Linked DNA regions of Homo sapiens: region 2 is linked to region 1. Evidence: promoter capture Hi-C in human tissues and cell types (Jung and others, 2019). All regions are on one chromosome and are shown on one strand. Each heading gives the region's core, a stretch centred on a gene start or on the middle of the fragment in contact. The rest is flanking DNA. Distances are from core to core; before and after follow the strand shown. Region 1 holds the start of ARHGEF7 (Rho guanine nucleotide exchange factor 7). Region 2 has its middle 31 kb from the start of LINC00368.

The links. Contacts are between HindIII fragments. The study calls those that stand out against the background at their distance.
Region 2: a contact is called between a fragment that was not itself captured here and the fragment with the promoter of ARHGEF7 in region 1, in 1 of the 25 tissues and cell types used here (mesendoderm cells).

Annotation. Positions count from the first base shown.
Region 1 is chr13:111,114,014-111,116,713 of GRCh38, reverse strand. It overlaps ARHGEF7 (Rho guanine nucleotide exchange factor 7), which reads right to left and starts at 1,404. Exons shown (of 22, transcript NM_001354046.2): 1 at 1,023-1,404. The coding sequence starts at 1,187. It overlaps ARHGEF7-AS2 (ARHGEF7 antisense RNA 2), which reads left to right and starts at 1,036. Exons shown (of 2, transcript NR_046667.1): 1 at 1,036-1,167; 2 at 1,796-2,700. RefSeq lists a silencer at 1,442-1,531. The HindIII fragment of the contact is 8,096 bases long and covers 1-2,569 here.
Region 2 is chr13:111,063,363-111,066,062 of GRCh38, reverse strand. No RefSeq gene overlaps it. Among named protein-coding and RNA genes, the nearest start is that of LINC00368, 31 kb to the left of the region's middle. RefSeq lists an enhancer at 1,484-2,014. The HindIII fragment of the contact is 5,156 bases long and covers 1-2,700 here.

The sequences.
Region 1 (2,700 bases), core at 155-2,654:
GTTGTCATCCTGTATGGGGGCCAATACACCCCACTTAAAAACTGAAATCCTTCTTCCTAATTATGGTACACTTCAATTTCTATATTTAACACCTTTTAAATAACTGTTGATCTTAACGCTATATATTGGCCACCCCCACCCCCACCCCACCCCCCGAAGAAACACCCTGGGAATAAGATTTTAGTATTTTGAGCTACAGGGAGACATCGTTTTTAGAAACTCTCCTGCCTCCTCGGCCCTGCTGGCCGGCTTGTGGGCGATGAAAACAAACTTTAATCACTTCCAGAGATTCGGGTCAGGGTTCACACGCTCCAGCCTGGGAACCACCAGCCGGAAGGGAGAAGCAGTGCCTGCAGGACTAAAGGTTCTGTTCAGAACGAGGGAGGGACCTGAGAACGAAATCTAGAATTTTAACAAGCCTTGAAGAGTGCCAGGACTTAGACCCTGTGTCTGCCGTCCTCTCGGCTCGGATAGGTGGGGAATTTTCTCGAGGGGAAAGTAGTAGATCGTTTCACAGCGCAGCCCTCAGCTACAGATGCGTGCCTCTTTAAAAATACAGAGCAACCGGTCAATTAACCTGGGAGGCGAAACTCACGCAACGCCACCGGCAAGAACTGTCCACACAAAGCCAGCGGAGTGAGCCGCACCGCGTCGGAACGCGGTTTCCGATGCGGCTGCTGCCAGGGAGCGGGGCCGGCCCCCCACGCGGAGGGGCAACTTAGCGTTCGGGCGGCGCAGAAGCCCCGTCTCCTCGCTGCGGTGCACTCTCCTTCCCGGGGACCCCCGCCGCCCGCGCCGCCCCTCCCCCCGACCCCGCTCCCCGGCCCCCTCCCCCTGCCCCGCACACAATGGCGCCCCCCGAGCTCCCGCCACGGTCCTGGCGCCGGCCGCGCCGCCGCTCCGCGCACAAAGGAGGGCGCACGGGTTTCCCGAGCGCGGCCGGCCTCAGGTGCTCCGCGCGCATCCCGGGCCGCAGCGGGCCGGACCGGGGGGCGCGGGCGGGGGCGCGGGCCGGGACTTACTTTCTCGATGGTCCCGGGGAGCAGGCGCTCCAGCAGCCTGCAGAGGACCACCCCATCCTTCAGCGACGCCTGCAGAAAGCCCTCCGGGTCCGAGATGGTTTTTTTGGGCGACTCCAGCACCCCCAGAGTGATGAGCCACGTAACGGTTTGCTCGGCGGAATTCATCGCTGCGGCCCGGGAGGCAGGCGGGGAGGGGCGCGCGCCTTCACCTCGGAGCGGCGGCCCGGCCCGCGGCCCCCGCCGCCGCCGCCGCCGCCTCGCCCATCGAGCGGCCGGCGCCGGCGATTGGCTCGGCGCGGCCCAGCAGGTCCGGCCCGGCCCGCTTCTCCGTGCGCCCCGGCCCGCTGTCAGGCGCCTTCTCAGGAGCGGCTCGGGAACCTGCGGGCGCCCGCCGCCGCCCCCCGGCCTCGGCCGCCGTCGCCCAATGACATCACCGCCAGGAGAAGAAAGACGCGGCCGTCCGCCCGGCCCGCGCCCGGCCCGCGCCGCCCCGCGCCCTGCGCAGCCTCCGCTCCAGGCCGTGCGCGGGGCGGCGGCGGCGGCTGGGAGCGGGCGGGGAAGGGAAAGGGGAAGGGGAGCGGGGAGCGGATGGGGAGGGAGCCGGGGGTGGGGGCGGGCGCGCACCTGCGCTTACCTGCCCCGGGCCCGCCGTGCGCCCCGCGCCCCTGGCCGGGGCACTCGGAAGCCTTTGTTTATGTTTTGAATTCGTGAGCGTTGAAATGATGAAGTACTTCCCAGAATGCTCTTTTTATTTTTGCCGGTTTTATTTCAAGGTGGCGGGGACAGGCTGAAAACGAGACGTTTGTTTCGCTTTGCTACCTTGCAAGCCGGTCATGACGGAACAGAAATGATGGTTCCATCTGAAGCCATATGGGTCTGAATCGGGAGGAACCGACTCTCCGGAGCGCGGCGCCGACCTCACCGGCAGGGCAGGGGCCTGCGCGACTCTGCTCTAGACGGACGGTGACGCTTCAGACCCTGCCGGGGGAAGGTCAAGGAAACGGCGTGGCCTGAAGTGGGGCTGTGCAGAGGGCCGGGCCGGGCCGGGCCGGGCGCCTGGCTGCGTCTCGGGGACGCCGAAGATCTGGGCTGTGAAAGCAGCAGGCCGAACCTGGAGAGCCCAGACGGCAAGTGTCGCGTCATGCGCGAGCTTCCTCGAACAACTGATGACACGCACACATTGACATGCGAGGAAGAAATGGAGCCTCTTCTTAAAAGGACACGAGTCTCCACTCACTCCATCCACTGTCCCTGGGCGCTCCCCCAGTTTGCTCGCTATGACCCGCGGGCAGTTTAACAAGCAAAGCACTTAGTCTATGCCAGGCACATACATTAATCCATTCAATGACAAAGGCTAGAAAGCATATAAAGCTTCCAAAAATAATCAGAGGCTTAAGTCGTCTCCCCCTGCCTTCTGCCGGTGGATTTCTCTTGCAATCACTAATTGCTTTTATTTCTAGCCTTGAGTTAAGTGGTTAAAATTTTCTTTGCAAATACAAAAAATATTCAAATGGCAGTATGAATTCTGGATTACGAGGACAATGTGCTCAGTGATAACAGCGACTGGTTAGGAACCGTCACAAAGTGCTGTCTACTGCCTCGCCTCCCATCATGGTCCCCTTTTACTGATCAGATGCCGAACAAGTGGCAGAGATAAGACCCAAAGCTCGGCTCCTAC
Region 2 (2,700 bases), core at 136-2,635, 51 kb after region 1:
GGGAGAGGGTGAAGTAGGCGACTTGAGAGATCCAAGTGCAGGGTACAACCCCCCACTTTGGGTTTTATACATGGGCATGGTTCAGGGTTTCCATTTCCCCTTCCTTGACCTTTCCTTGGGGTGGGCTGTCCGCATGCGCAGTGACCGGCCAGCGCTTGGGCGGGGCCGCGTGCGCGCTGTATTACTGAAGTTGTGCACATGCTCACCTGAAGTATTTTGCCCTTACCTGTCTCGTGTTCCTGGAGGAAGGTCACACACCAGTTAAACTACATTTTACCTCTTAGTGCACAGGCCTAAGCCACCTCGCCCCACTCCTGAGATCTTATAGAAAGCTGCTGATCAGTTTCAGGTGTTTTCCAGCTATTGGGAGCCCGCCTTTCCCTGGCACAGCTGCAACCAATTACTATTTTAGAGAACCAGTTTAACCACTGCCTGAGTATCACCTGATGGTCTCCAGAGGTTCCTGGTGGGGTGGGCCCTCTCCTGCCCTGCTCATGTCTGCCTCGCCACTGACTAACAATGAGTGGAGTTCCACAGTACTTGTCTTTTTGTGACTAGCTAATTGTTTTATGTTTATTTTTAACAAAAATTCCTGGACAGTGTTTTGATAAATGATTTTCATGCAGCCTGTTTTATAAACTCCCTGGTTCTTTCTGTGATTGCTATTTTTCTCTTCCTCTCTGTTTAAATGCTTCATTCTACCCTTTCTTCCTGCTCTTGCTTCAGTGCATTTTGTTCTTCCTTTCCTATTTTTTCCTCTTTCTTCCTGTTTTCCATGATGTAACTGGAAGGCAATGTTAGAAATCAATGAGCAGCAGATCCCCCCGAGAACTAAGCACTGCAGTGGGGAAGCCACCCCAGCTTTGTTTTCCGCCACTGCAGACTCATCTGGAAGAATCAGTGTTTTTTCCTTCTCAGCCAGATGGCTGCCTTTGTGTTTCCACCATGGGCCTTCTCTTACCCATGAGAAGGTCTCTTTCCTGCTTTGAGGGAGAGGAGACCATGCCAGGTGCCATGTGGGCTGCCCTGAAGAAAACTGTATGGGCTCACTGAGGCTGCCACATGTTTTACTTTCTGAGAAGATGAGATGAGCCCTCCACATTTCAAGGCTGAGAGCAGAAATGTGACCAGGTGCTGGAGCCTCCAGGACAGTGAAGGAAGGGGTCTGGGTCCCTGCTTAGCCCTGAAGGAAAAGGAGCAGCTTCCAGAAGGCAGTAGGGATGTGGGTGCTGTGACAGGCCGTGCCAGCTTGGTCCTGCATGTGGTTAGAAACCAGGAGCCTTGGCCACCAAGTGGAACCAAAATCTCCCATCCCTGTCTTGTTCTCTTTGCATAGTGTGGACGAAAAGCGTCAAGCTCTGTAAAACATTTGAAGAGGTTTATTCTGACCAAATATGAGGGACCAATGACTTGTGACACAACCTCAGGAGGTCAGGAGAACATGTGCCCAAGGTAGTCAGGCTACACCTTGGTTTTATACATTTTAGGGGGACTTAAGACATCAATCAATACAGGTAAGGTGTACATTCGTTGGGTCAGGAAAGGTGGGACAACTTGAAGCAGGGGCTTCCAGGTCACAGGTAGACTCAAAGAATTTCTGATTGGCAATTGGTTGAAAGAGTTTTTATCTAAAGACCTGGAATCAATAGAAGGGAGTGTCTGGGTTATAATAAGGGATTGTGGAGAGCCAGGTTTTGTCATGCAGATGAAGCCTCCAGGTAGCAGGCTTCACAGAGAATAGATTGTAAATGCTTCTTATCAGACTTAAAGTCTGTGTTGATGTTAATGCTGGTCAGCTGTGCCTGAATTCCAAAAGGGCGGAAGGTATATTGAGGCATGTCCAACCCCTGCTTCCCATCATAGCCTGAACTCGTTTTTCAGATTAACTTTGGAATGCCCTTGGCATTCCAAGAAGAGGGGTTCATTCAGATGGTTAGGGGGCTTAGCATTTTATTTTTGCTTTACACCAGAAGCTTCCCTGAGGGGCCTGGGCCCTGGGCTTCAGGGCCTCTGCTCTCAGGCCTTGCCCAGAAGAATGGAAGATGCAGTGAGGGACCTGGAGGAGAGTGGACTGCTGTGTGTGGGCTTCGTGGCACACAGGGAAAAGCACAGGCTCTGGGTGAGTTTAAATCCTGGCTCTGCTGCCTGCAAGATGTAAGACTCCAGCATGTTATTTAATCTCTCTGAGCCTCTGTCACCCCATAAATAAAATGAGGTAATTTCTAGCACACAGGATCATTGACATGAATAAAATAACTGATGTTTACATGGCACTTGCTACATCAGTGGCACTGATTGCTGGTCATATAAAGCAAGGAAAAAAGATGTTTCCTCTTTTTATTCATTTCTACATCCTGCCAGTTTCCCTACACATATGCATTATAGATGACGAATAATTGAGAAAATCTGCAAGGACAAGGCTCGTATTCTTCCTGACCCATTTCTTGTTCAGAGTATAAGGTAACTTGTGCCGCACGTGTACCCAATATGCCGTGGGGTTATAGGATGTTAAATTGGACATTTACATGATACAATAAATATGACATTCCAGAGTGATGTTCTAGACCAAGATTCAAATCTTTAAGGAAGGGATTTAACCAAAAGTTGATTACATAAACATTGTTCGCATCACCCACACTTTGTTATGTGCATCTGTGTGAAGAGACCACCAAACAGGCTTTGTGTGAGCAATAAAGCTTT